Regions from separate parts of the Homo sapiens genome. Here regions 2, 3 and 4 are each linked to region 1. The links are contacts of gene promoters, found by promoter capture Hi-C in blood cells and fetal thymus (Javierre and others, 2016). All regions are on one chromosome and are shown on one strand. Each heading gives the region's core, a stretch centred on a gene start or on the middle of the fragment in contact. The rest is flanking DNA. Distances are from core to core; before and after follow the strand shown.

Region 1 (3,337 bases), core at 578-3,077:
AGGGACCCTCCCGCCTCAGACTCCCAGAGTGCTGGGATTACAGGCGTGAGCTACTGCGCCCGGCTATGGAACTGCATTTCTGCTGAGAACCTTCACGAGGTCAGATAGAAAATTTTCCACTGTGGCCTCATGTCAGTGCTCAAAGTTTCAGACTTTGGAGCATTTCCGATTTCGGATTTTTGGATTAGGGATGCTCAACCTGTATTTGGAGAGCAAGTCTCTCCGGTGCTCATTTTAGGCTAACCTAAGACAGCACACCTGAATCAGCTGGGCACCACAGCTAATCAGCGCACCTGTGGTCACAGCTACTTGGCAGGCTGAGGCGGGAGGTTTACCTGAGGGCGGGAGGCAGAGGTTGCAGTGACCCGAGATTGCACCATTGCACCCCGGCCTGAGTGATAGTGCGGGACTCTGTCCCAAAAAATTAAAAAAATTAAATTAAAAAAAAGCACGCCTGATATAGTTCGGGTCTCCTGACCCAATATTCGGCTCTGGGCCCACTCTGTCACTCCAGGACACATTCTCCCACATCTAGCACCGCAGCAGGTGGAGGCAGGACTACGACTGGGACTGCTCTTTACCCCTGCCTGGCGTGCAGAGGGGATCCTTGCAAAGCTGTTATTTGAACTAAAGTCAGGAAAGGTGTCCCTGGGGGTTAGAGGTAGGACACGCTACTTCCTTCAGCATGGGGACACACACTACAGATGTTTCAGTAGATGAACTGGTAGGCTCGGAAGATAAAGCTGGTGAGAGGCAGCTGTGCGGGGCATCTCCAAAAGGTCACTTGGACTCCAGCAAAAAAAGCCAGACTGATGGGCAGGCGTGATCAGTTAGCGCGTTCGTTCTTTCATTCACTAAGTATATAGTGAACACTTACATGAGCCAAGCCCTATTCTAAGAAGATGGAGGTACAAGTCAGGCGAGCACGCAGGAGTTTGGATTTTAGCCCAAGTTGGAGGAAGTTAATTTTTAAAGCCCCAGCTCTGTCGTTTTTAAACTGTGTAAAGTTGACCTCTCTGAACTTCTGTTCCTCATAATAAATGACCTACAAATTAGAGTTCTCAAGAGAGCTGAGCAGCAAAACGTGTTAAGTCAGTGCCCAAATGTGGAAGCTTGTGGTAATTACAGGTGAAGGACCCCAAGCTCAAGGTTAAATGACTTGCACCGGGTGTCAAGTGGAAGATCTGTCACTCTATTAGGTCCAGCCGGCGGCCGGGAAGCCTGCAGGAGGTACTCATTTCGCCAAGGAGGAATCCGAGGCCAGGCAAGAAGGAAGCCCCGCCAAGGTCCAGTCAAAGAGCTGGCATCGCCGGGATTCGAACCTCGCGCCCACTGCGTTCCGTCGCTGGCCCGCGCCCCAACGCCACCCATTGCCGTGGAAACGGCCGGGCGCATGCTCTCCCACTCGCTCCCGCCTTGCTTTTTTTTTTTTTTTGCGGCGGGATACCCCAGCGACTGAACGTGAGCCGCAGAACGCAACTACGTTCGCTCTCCTCCCCAGACCCGGATCCCTCCGCGGCCGGCGGCCGGCGGCCGGCGGCCGGCGCACTGCTTCCCGACTCGACGCTCGAAACGGCTTTCCGCGCGCCGCGCCGCGCCCCACCCCCACCCCGTCTCACCCCAACCCCCAGCCCGGCTCACCTGCCGCCCGCGTCTCCATGGCAACGCCCCACCGCGGAGGAAAAAAAAGCCTCGGGCTCTTCCGGGCCCCCTCCCGTGCCGACCGAGGGGGCGGGGCGCCCTGCTGACGCTTCGCTTTTTATTTTTATTTTTTTAAGAAAAGAGCCGGCGAGGTTATGGCGAATCTGCGGCATCCAACATGGCGGATGGAGTCTTCGCCCTCCTCCCCACGGGGCGCAGACGCCTGCGTAGCGGACGTCCGCTTCGGGTGACCCTCCCCCGGCGCCGAGCGCGGCCCGGCAGGGCCGAGCTAACGCGCATGCTCGCAGTCGGAGGCCGTGCTTTTTATCCCACTTCACGGATTCCGCTGCGCCGCGTTTTGAGCCACGCCCAGGGAGGGGCCCTCGGGAGGTCCGGAGCGCGGATCTCGGGGTCAGGAGTCTGGCGGTTGTGCCAGGCCTCTGCTAGCGCGACCCTAGACCCGCGGCATGTGGGGCCGCCGAGCTGGGCGTGCAAGGAGAGTTCTGGGTGCGCTTCGTGTCCCAGCTCTACCTCTCACTACCTAACTTGGGGCAGCGAATTAACTTTTCTTGCTCTCAGTTTACTGATGTGTCCATCGGGGTGCTCCCAACCTGCATCCCGCTCAAAGCTGCGGCGTTTCCCGAAGCGTGGGGTGCTTTCCTTTGGGCCACCCGGCTGGGTTTTAGGGGCTACAGAGCACTGAGCGGCCTACGATCACACGTGACAAGGCGACTTCCTCCTCTCTCGTCTCTTTTTGTCCCACAACAAGTCTGCACTGGATGTGCGCGCCTCCAACACCCGCTCATTCATTTCTCTGCTTGTGGCACAGCCTTCGGCAGGCAGCTGAGTCTGGTGGAAATTTAATGACTTTGTTTTTGGTTTTGATGTTAAGGTGTTTAGCTCCAACACTGTAGTCCTCGGCTCAAATGATATCTTCCAGCCCCTAACCCTCACCCCCCGAAACCCATCTAAAGTAACCCTCCAAGACACTTCATATTTTCTACGTAGCATCCATTCCTATCTGTCATTATCTCCCTCCCTTACCTCTGTCAATGGTCACCCCGTTAGCCTCAGAAACAAACTGAGCCTGACAGTTATTTATTTCATGAGTAATGAGTTGATGTGGTCCATGTTCTAAGGTCATTTTCTGTTCATGACAAATAACGTTTTTCACTTACAGTAGTCATATAAAGTTTTTAAATTGTTCGTTTACATTTTCAAAAATCAGTCAACTTAAAATGGTGTACATGCTGCAAAGACATGCCCCCCCCCCCCCAAAAAAAAAAAGTGTAAAAGCAGACTTCAGGAGACTGAAGTTTGGGAAACTGATTTGTGTTCATGGTTCCCCTGAAATGCTAGTCTTTGCCTGTTCTTCTTTTCCTGGAATAACCCTCTTTGGTTGCTGCTCAACATGAAATTCTCGGACAGCCCTGAAGTTCACACTTCATGTTCCCACAGCTCTGGTCTCACTGGCCTAGCTCCATCCCCCACTTCTCTGTTTGCACAGCGTTCATCCTCACTAGACTGAGCTTCCTGAGCAGCCCTTATAGGTCCTTTTCATCTTGTTTTCTCAGCGCCTGTTGCATAGTCATATTACTGAATGAACACTTCGTTCTGGGGTCACTTATTTTTTAGGAGGAAAACTCCCTTGGGCATTGAGCTTCAGGATGACTCATCTGATTTCTCAGGAGACTGC
Region 2 (3,462 bases), core at 34-2,533, 1.1 Mb before region 1:
TTGGAACTGGAATAGGAGTGCATAGCTGAAGAAGAGGTAAAGAAAAAGAAAGTGCAGGAGAAGGGAAAAAAGAACTCCCAAGAATACTCACAGTGATGGGTTTAGCAGAAGCTTCTTCAGTCTCCAACAAGCTCCTTAAGAAGTCTGAAAACATGGACCCCAAAACTGAAAGGTTTTCACTAATAGAGAGGAAAGTTCATGGTGCATTATCTGCCTACAAGCAAAACCAGGATTCAAAAAACCCTTTGAGCTGGAGCTTCAAAGCACAAAAAAAAAAAAAAAAAAAAAAAAAAGAAAAAGAAAAAAGAAACAAATGAAGCAAACCACCATGGACATAGTTATGAGTCTATTAGTGATGGGGATACGTTCTGAGGAATGTGTTGTTAGGCAATTTCATCCCTGTGCCAGCATCATAGTGTACTTATGCGAATATAGATGGTAAAACCTACTGCACACCTGGGCTATATGGTTTAGCCTATTCCTCTTAGGCTGCAAACCTGTACAGCATGTTATTGTACTGAATACTGTAGGCAATCGTCACTCCATGGTAGGTATGTATGTATGTATCTAAACATATCTAGACATAGAAAAGGTACTATAGAAAAACAGTATAAAAGATAAAAACGGTATGCCTGTATAGGCCACTTACCATAAGTGGAGCATGCGTTACTGGAAGTTGCTCTAGGTTGAGTCAGTGAGTGAGTGGTGAGTGAATGTGAAAGCCTAGGACATTACCGTATACTATTGTAGACTTTATGAACACTACACTTGGGCTACACTGAATTTATAAAAATGTGTTTTTCTTCAATAATAAATTAACCCTAGCTTGTTGTTACTTTTCTTACTTTATACACTTTTTAAACTTTTTTGACTTTTTTGTAATAAAACTTAGCTTAAAATACAAACACATTGAACAGCTGCACTAAAAATATTTTCATTTTCTTTTCTTTTTTTTTTTTTTTTGGTATTGGAGTTTCACTCTTTTGCCCAGGCTGGATGGCAGTGGCATCATCTTGGCTCACTGCAACCTCCGCTCCCCGGGTTCAAGCGATTCTCCTGCCTCAGCCTCCCGAGTAGCTGGCATTATAGGTGCACACCACCAGGCCAGGCTAATTTTTGTATTTTTAGTAAAGTCGAGGTTTCGCCATGTTGGCCAGGCTGGCCTTGAACTCTTGACCTCAGGTGATCCACCCACCTCAGCCTCCCAAAGTGCTAGGATTACAGGCATGAACCACTGCACCCAGCCTAAAAATATTTTCTTTATATCCCTATTTCACAAGTTTTTTCTATTTACAAATTATTTATTCATTTACTTTTCCAACTTTTTTGGTAAAATTAAGACACAAACACTCACATCAGCTTGGGCCCACACAGCGTCAGTCATCAATATCACTGTCTTTCACTGCATATCTTGAAACACAGGAAGGTCTTTAAGGGCAATAACCTGCATGGAGTTGCCATCCCCTAAGGTAACAGTGCCTTTCCCTGGAACACATCCTGAAGGTCCTGCCTGAGGCTGTATTACAGTGAACTCTGTGAGGTTTGCATAGCCATTAAATTGCCTAATGACGCTTTTCTTGGAATGTGTCTCTGTCATTAAGCCACTCCTGATGGTCTTAGACCCGAAATCTATGCTAAGCCATCTGGTTAGTCTCAGTCCATCCTGCCCACCCTAATCTCTTTGTCAAAAATCAGCTCATGAATGAATAGCTTTAATCCCTACTTGGACCACCAAGATAAAGAGATAAATATATTGAGTCTTCTAGGAAAAAAGTTTCTAAGAGTAAGCCCTGAATATAGCTTATTTCTAACTGGACATGAACAAAAGAGCATTTTTAACACAGTTGCTCTGGGAGGCATCTTTGTGCCCATGAAGAAAGCCAAATAAAGACATTAGGTTCAGAGTCGTAATCACACTAATGCATGAAGTCTGTTCTGGACTTTCTGTTTCATGAGTCAATAAAATTCTTTTGCTTACTCCACTTTAGGTCATAGTTCTGTTACTTGCAACAAAACCCTTGATAACGACAGTTAGATTGATTGTCCCGAAGCCCCTCTCCTTCCCTCAAGTCATTTCCAAGCTCTAACCCTTTAAAACATTTGTGGCTTCCCATTGCCTAGGGGTGTAAGTCCAGATTTCTGAGTCTAGCAGTTAAGACCCTCGGTGTGGTCCCAACGTGTGTTTCTCACTTGTTTCCTTCTAATACTCCTCTTTACAAACCCTCTACTAGCAGGCATAGCTTGGCCCAGAAGCTCTGGTTAACTTATATGTTATGTTCTTAAAATCAACATAGATCTCTATCTTGCTGGGCTGGTGAAGCCCCCAAGATATACAGAAGTCCAGAGGGCTAATGCAGGGCCTGGTGTGAGGAAACTCTGACTCCTGGCAATCCTCACTGCTTCTGCAGAGCCTCCCACTGTCCTGGGCTGCGAGATCCATAAGGATCATGGTTCCTAAGCTTCCTTGCCATAAGGTCCAGCTGGCCCAGATATATGCATTTCCTAGGATAGCCATAACCAACTACTACAAACTGTGTGGCCAGAAACAGCAGAAATTTATTTTCTCACAGTTCAGGAGGCTGCAATGAAGGTGTTGCAAAAGTTAGTTCCTGCTGGAGACTCAGAGAGAAACTGTCCCGTGCCTTTCTATATGACCTCATCTCAACTTGTTTAACCAATTACATTTGCAAATACCCTATTTCCAAATAAGGTCAAATTCTGAGGATCCTGGTAAGCATGAACATTTCAGGAACATTATTCAACCCACTAAACCAGGGACACCAACATCTCCATGCCCACCTCTGGAGCAGATGGCTTCCATTCTCTGTAGCTCCAGCTGACGGGCAGCCCTGGAAACCCTTTTCATCCTTTTCTTTATGGTGTTCTCAGAAGCAGACTCCTGTCCCCTTTTTTCATGTAAATGGATTTAAGTTTGATTTCCAAAAAGCTAGACCTTCAGCAACTTCTAATTTTCCCTAAGGTAGCTAGTCCTTGAGGCAAGGAAACATTAAGGGCCTGACTTCAGGCTTGAAATGGGGGAAATGGGAATCTATAAGGGATGAAAACCACAAATGAATATTTGAAGTGTCCTGCCATACCTATTGCACCTGCATTCCACACACATCAGTTAATGGAATACCCATCGTTCCTTCTAGAAGAGCCACCACCTGGCTTTGCGTATGAACCATGAGTTCCCTGGAAGGCTCTCCACCACCTGAATCCCCTCCTGTCTAATGTGCACAGCTCTTCCTGAGGCAGCGGGGGCAGTGGGGGTGGGTAGTGGAAGGGCTGCCCCCACATGAGGCCTTTGCTATTGGCCCTGTACAGTCCTCATCCCTTCCGCTTATCCCTACTGGGTCTCCCTTAAAATCCATCACCACTTTGCACCTTTGCAGTTACGGGCTTATTAGGCTCTATTTCCTGTTCAATGGACAGATCCTGAAGGAGAGGTGCAATCCTCCC
Region 3 (2,960 bases), core at 15-2,514, 1.2 Mb before region 1:
TTCTGCCTGATGATGGGTTGAGCTGTCGCACCAGCCAGGCCCTGTCTGTGCTGTCCTCTCGGCTGTAAAATAAAGAGGCCGTGGTCTGACTCACACCTGTAATCCCAGCACTTTGGGAGGCCAAGGCAGGCAGATCATGAGGTCAAGAGTTTGAGACTAGCCTGACCAACATGGTGAAACCCTGTCTCTACTAAAAATACAAAAATTAGCCAGGCGTGGTGGCGCGTGCCTGTAATCCCAGCTACTTAGGAGGCTGAGGCGGAAGAATTGCTTGAATCCAGAAGGTGGAGGTTGCAGTGAGCTCAGGAGGCTGAGGCAGGAGAATTGCTTGAATCTGGGAGGCGGAGGTTGCAGTGAGCTGAGATCATGCCACTGCACTCCAGCCTGGGCAACAGAGTGAGACTCCGTCTCAAAAAAAAAAAAAAAAAAAAGAGGCCAGTGTCTTGAGGTCCCCCTCATGGCTAAAATCTTAGGTATGTCTCTTGTGCCTCTGATGTCCAGTGATGATACCCTAGCTTCACAGCCCAGACAACTTTCCCATCCTTAAATTCAGATAGCTCCTAAGAGCACCATTCTGCCATCTGCTCCAGGAAGCGCTCTCTGGTTGGAAGCTTTGAATGAGAAAGAGCCTTCTAAACCGCAAAGCTGCCCAGAGGTCAAAACACCACTGTGTGGGGCACAGAGCTCCCTACCACAGGTAGTGAAAAATGCAGCTCAAGGAGGCGGAACAAGAATGTAATTGATGATGATGTGTTGCCACAGCATATCTTTAACAAGGACTCTTCTGAGCACGGTCCAAGTGTTAACTCATTGAATGCTTATTTATTACCTCCTGGGAGGTAGGTACCATTGTTATCCAGATTTTATGGATGAGGAAAGGGAAGTACAGAGAGGTTCAGCAACTTGCTGAAGGACACGCAGTTAGGCAGTGGCAGAGCTAATACTTTTATGAGTAAATCAAGGAATCAATGAAAGACTCAGTAGATAGAAGAAGGTTGAACAAGGTTACTGCAAAGGCTCTTTGCAAATGCTAAGATTTTATAATTCTTTGACACTATTTAAGTGTGCAACCTCTGTAACTAATTATTCAACCAACATACCATGCCCCCGTCCTCCCGCAAGTAATGGTGACTAAAGTTTATGACACCATGGCTCAGAGAAAAAGAGAAAACCTCCTTTACTCCATCCGGGGCAGGTTCCTGACAATGCAGAAGTATTCTGATATTCAAAACTGTCTCCACAGCCAGTATATTTTTTTCTCCTTGTTTGGATTTCTGACATTGCATAAATGTCAGTTTAATGTATAAAATCCTATGCCGCAGGTCTTCCAATAATGCTGTTTCATTCAACAGCATTTCATTATAACATTGATGAGAAGAATACGGATTCCCGGCCGGGACCACTGTGTGTGTGGAGTTTGCAAGTTTTCCTCATGTCCTCGTGGGTCTTCTCCAGGCACTCCAGTTTCCCACACCCCAAAAAGCTGTGCATATCAGGTGAACTGCTGTGTTTATGTGGTCCCAGGGCGATAGAGTGTGGTTTTGTGTGTGTGTGTGTGTGTGTGTGTGCATGTGTGCACGTCCTAAGCCACTGGGACAGGCTGTGGCCACCTGCGATGCTGTTTGGGGCCTTCATTTAGAAGTTTGGTGATATTTTTATGAACAGAAATACATCAGAGATACTTAACTCTTGTTTATATCAGTTACCCTATGGTGAAATCAGTTTTTTATGTCGTTTCCCTTAAACTCACAATTTCCAAGGACCTATCGATGTCATTAAATGAGGACTTACTGTGGTCCAAGGATCATGTTTGCTGAGCTCAGTTTGTTCCAGGTCGCAGGGAGAAACAGAAAATAGCAGCAGACCTTAGGTTGGAACCAGTTCTTCAACCCATTCTGAAAGGTGTGTTTTCCATTTGAAGCTTCTATCAGGTGGTGAAAGAAAGAACGATGGTACTGTCTGCCTAATCTCTCCCTTTCATTTTAATTTCCTTTTTTTGCCAAAAGACTGAATTTTAAAACATAAGATTATGTTTTAGAAACAACCAGTAATACACCTCACAAAGACATTCCTATTCGTGGCAGCTAACATGTTTCCTGAGCAACGGTCTTTATTCATCAAACTCTCCACCAGGTGGTAGGATTAACAGTGTTTTCAAGTAAGAAGAAGAACAACAAACCTTTCTCTCCATTGTGAAGATGTTATTAAAAGGGAATTTTCCAAGGTTGCAACAGCGACGCTGACGATTCCTTTTACGTGAAGCAGGTTGCCTCCAAGAGGCTCCCATCTAGCTAGGGAGCTGGCTAAGTTTACACGCCTGATTGCAAACTTTGCACTCAGCCTTCCTGCTCAGTCCTTTCTCCAAACCCCCCGGCAGGCTCAAAGTGGCTCACCGCCTCCCTCAATCCCCAGGCACCTTGGGGCTCTTCGAATTCAATTTATAACAACAAGCCACAAAGATGAGTTCTTGCAAGCAGCCATGCAGGGACGGATGTGGAGCAGTTAAAGGAAACAAAATTACAGATAGGAGGAATAGGTTCTAGTGTTCTGTGGCACTGCAGGGTGGCTATAGTAAACAAGGATTTATAATATATTTTCATATTTTCAAATAGCTAGAAGAGAGGATTTTGAATGTTCCCAACACAAATGATGAATGTTTGAGGTGACAGATATGCAAATTACCCTGATTTGATCACTCTACATTGCATGTATGAAAACTCACTACGTACCCCATAAATATGTACAATTACTATGTGTCAGTTTTACTAAAAAAAAAAACACACTGAAATACCATCACTTCCATCAGCATGACAACTTATAACAGAAAAAGTATTTGCATTTCGTGTGTATTATCTATTGCTGTGTAATAAATTATGATGAATTTAGCAGCTTAGAAGAAAATAAAGCCAGAATGTAACAGGCTAAATAAACCCACGGACTCACCCAGTGATGGTGAATCG
Region 4 (3,365 bases), core at 251-2,750, 1.2 Mb before region 1:
TTTCTGGACAACTGTGCTCAATTCACTTCTAATTTCAAACAGATGGGGCTGCGCTCTGTCACTCCCACCTGGCCCAGGGCCCTGGCGAGCAGCAAGGGGCCTCTCCCTTCTGCCCTGCTGAGAGGGGAGTTGCGTGGCTTCTGGGAGCAGGGGAAGTGGGTCCTAACTCTTCTGTGGGGGGTTGCTAATCTCCCAAACACCACAGAGAACATGGGAGACTGGAGGGTCCAGGTCTCAATTCACAGACACTGCCACACCCCCATGCACACCTCTGTCCTAGCACAAGTCACAAAGGTGTGCAGCTGTTGCTTTCTCCACCCTTAGAAGCAGTACAGAGATTCCACAGCCAAACCACCTGAGCCTCAATCTGGCTCTGCCCACTTTGCTGGGCACCCTCAGGCAAGTAACTCAACCTCCCTGTGCCTTCATTTCCTCCTCTGTAAAGTGAAGATGGTGATGCTTAAAGTGGCAGCTACTTCAAAGGGGCACTGGAAGGATGCATCAGGAGTTCCTGCAGAGCATTTAGAAGGGTCTTATTGCAGATGGAATGGCCACTTGTCCTGCTCTGTGACAAAGCAAAGTCGACTCTCATGGGACTCTCAGGACCTCCCTGGAGGCCTGCAAGAGGTCAGCACCATTCCTAGGTACCAGATTTATGACCAATTGACAAATGTCTGTTGAGCTTCTTGCTGGAGAACAAGTACAAACGGACTGGCAGAAGGCTGGGTATGGGAGCCACAAGGGTCTCTATCCCTCGTCCTCGTCTCTCGAAGTGGGAGTGTATTTTTTCACCCACTGGATGTTGTGACACGCTTTAGCCAATGGAATGTGGGAAGAAGTGTCAAGATGCCAGTTCAGAACCATAATCATAAGAGCTTTGTGTCCTTCGGGGAGCTTCTGACCTCCATTATGAGAAAAACATGCTTCAGGCAGCCTGTGACCCTCCAGTCAGGGCCAACTCAACTCAAAGACTAAGCCAGAACCACCACATGTGACCCACAGACCTATGAAATCTGAATGAATGCTCTTATGCCATTTCATGGTTTTGTTACACAGCAAAAACTGACTGATACACTCTCTCTGCTCAATTGCTCCTATACCTTGACTCTCGCTGGCCCTCTCAGCTCAAGCAAAGCCTGGAACAATAATTAAAAAACCTACCTCTTAAGCTTTTAATGAAGACTGAATGAGCTATTATTACCCCAATTTTTCAGATGAAAATGTGAAACACAAAGGAGTTAAGAACTTGTGCAAGGTCTCCCAGCTAGAAAGTGGTAGAGCCAGGACACAAACCCAGGCATTGTCCCCTAGAGACAGAGCTCTCAACAACCAGGCAACACTACAGCCCCAGGTGAGACCAGCATTTTGCAGGTGAGCAGATCCTGATGTCACAGGATCCTTGGGTGTCACTTTGCCAGCCAGACACCTCTGTGGCCAGCAGCGCCTTCTACCTGAGTATTGCTCATGCCTGCTGGGCTCATGTCACCCACTTGGCCCAACAGGTTGTGCTCAGCTTATGCTACCAGCCTAGATCACACACCTGCTAAGGGCAAGCCAGGCGTGAAGCAGCAAGGGGTGTGTGGGTGAGCTAGCACAGGGTCCAGCCACTGTGCACAGCCAGGTACGCTGGTTGCTGCGACAGGATGGACAGCTCCGGGCACTGGCACAGGTGCCAGCTCCATGTGAGTCTGTGGCTGGACCAGATGTACCACACATGGCTTCTGCTGCAGGCACCCATTTCTGGACCCATGTCTGGATGAAGAAGCAAGACAGCTGCCACATTCCTAAGTAACACATCTAGAAATGTTCTAGGAGAACACGGTGGCACCCGGAAGCTTGGAGACACCAGGAACTGTGCAGTCCCAAAGAAGGTGTCACAGCCCTGGCTTGGGGAGCCCCTAGATCTGGGCTTCCCAACGGGCCACAGCTCTTCTCTCCTTCTTGTCACCTGCAACGTGGTGAATGGAGGGAGGAGGGTGTGTTTCAGCCCTGTTTGTGTTACAGCTCTTTCAGTCCCACCATTCAGCGGGTCCTGAGTTCTTGTACCATGTCCAGGAAGAATGAGGTATGCAGACAACTGGAGGGTGAGCAAGGCAGAGAGGAGCCTCACTGAGTGACAGAACAGCTTTCAGGAGACCTGCAGTGGGTAGCTCGTTTCCACAGGCAGGTCGTCCCAGTGAATGTCAAGCTTTCAGCAGAGAAGACACATAGTGGGTAGCTCCTTTCTGCAGTTAGGTCATCCCAAAGAGTCAAGGAGACCCAGAGTGGGTAGCTCCTTCCTGCAGCTGGTAGTCCTGACACCTACATGTCTGGCTGAGTCCAGGGTTTTTATGGGCTCAGAAGGGAGGAAGTGTGTGCTGATTGGTCCATGGATGGCCATGGATGGGCTTGGATAAAGCACCATAAGTTCTTCCTCTAGGCCATGGACTCCCCCTGGAACTGGCAGCCTGGCCCCCAGGCTTCAGGCTGTCCCTGGGTTGAAGGTGGTGTTTCACCTGGGACCTGCCCCTTTCTGCCCAGGAGCCTGTCTGCCTCCTGCTACCATCAACATGGCATCCACAGCACCCAGGCTGTGCATGCTGAGGGACGCCTGCAGGCCTGCACTGAGCTGCCCTCAGTCTCCTCTTGGCTTCCCTCCTGTGCCTGTCGGTGACCAAAGTCTGGAGGGGGCCAAGATGACAGGGGTCTGGCATGTCAACACCACCCAGAGTACATACACACCCAGCTGGGTTGCGACAGCACCCAGGCTCAGTTTCAACTTTGCTCCAAAAATCAGAGTGGACACTGGGAGTGGTGAGATGCCAGGGAGCGGGAGCAGGCAATTACAAGCCTGCATGACAGGGGGGCTTCCTGGGTCCCCAAGAGCAGAGGGATGCCTGGGTCCAGAGCTGTGGCTAGGTAGCTGCAGCTGTGCCTGGGAGCTCAGGGCTCCTGCCCTGCCAACTTGATAGAAGGCAGGGTTCCCACCTGTTCCTGGTCCCTGCCAGCTCTGTGGAGCATGCAGCCCCAGCTATGCCTCCCCTGCTGCAGCTGGCATCCCCACAGCAGCTGCTCCAGATAGGCCACTGCTGCCATCACTGACAATTCTTTCAGCTCACAAAGGTAGCCATGAATTAGGAAAGTTGGGTCAGGCTCCAGGCAGCCTGCGTTCAGGCAAGCTCAAGAGCTGAGGATGCCCACCTTTGCAAACATGGCAACTCTACCCATCCCTGTGTCTCCTAGACACTAGAGCCCCCACCCTCTGCTATTATTCTACCATACTCATTCCCCAGCCAGAGTCTGGGACCTGGGCTCCTGCAGATAATTCTACATCAAAAACAGGGGAAGTAGAAAAGTTCATGAAGGCTCCTAAGTCTCTCCAACCA

The links. Contacts are between HindIII fragments. The CHiCAGO score rates a contact against its expected background, and 5 or more counts as called.
Region 2: a contact is called between a fragment that was not itself captured here and the fragment with the promoter of ZFAT in region 1, in 3 of 17 cell types (naive CD4 T cells, monocytes and megakaryocytes). The highest score is 8.1, in naive CD4 T cells.
Region 3: a fragment that was not itself captured here is called in contact with the fragment with the promoter of ZFAT in region 1 in 6 of 17 cell types (fetal thymus, naive CD4 T cells, M0 macrophages and 3 more); the score reaches 7.2 in fetal thymus.
Region 4: a contact is called between a fragment that was not itself captured here and the fragment with the promoter of ZFAT in region 1, in 4 of 17 cell types (fetal thymus, total B cells, naive CD4 T cells and 1 more). The highest score is 6.8, in fetal thymus.

Annotation. Positions count from the first base shown.
Region 1 is chr8:134,711,204-134,714,540 of GRCh38, forward strand. It overlaps ZFAT (zinc finger and AT-hook domain containing), which reads right to left and starts at 1,828. Exons shown (of 16, transcript NM_020863.4): 1 at 1,642-1,828. The coding sequence starts at 1,660. RefSeq lists an enhancer at 1,660-1,839. The HindIII fragment of the contact is 8,105 bases long and covers 1,111-3,337 here.
Region 2 is chr8:133,578,149-133,581,610 of GRCh38, forward strand. No RefSeq gene overlaps it. Among named protein-coding and RNA genes, the nearest start is that of ST3GAL1, 8.0 kb to the left of the region's middle. The HindIII fragment of the contact is 2,348 bases long and covers 110-2,457 here.
Region 3 is chr8:133,557,494-133,560,453 of GRCh38, forward strand. The region is part of intron 1 of ST3GAL1 (ST3 beta-galactoside alpha-2,3-sialyltransferase 1); the gene reads right to left. Among named protein-coding and RNA genes, the nearest start is that of ST3GAL1-DT, 12 kb to the right of the region's middle. The HindIII fragment of the contact is 1,310 bases long and covers 610-1,919 here.
Region 4 is chr8:133,523,035-133,526,399 of GRCh38, forward strand. All of the region lies in intron 2 of ST3GAL1 (ST3 beta-galactoside alpha-2,3-sialyltransferase 1), which reads right to left. Among named protein-coding and RNA genes, the nearest start is that of ST3GAL1-DT, 46 kb to the right of the region's middle. RefSeq lists an enhancer at 623-792. The HindIII fragment of the contact is 666 bases long and covers 1,168-1,833 here.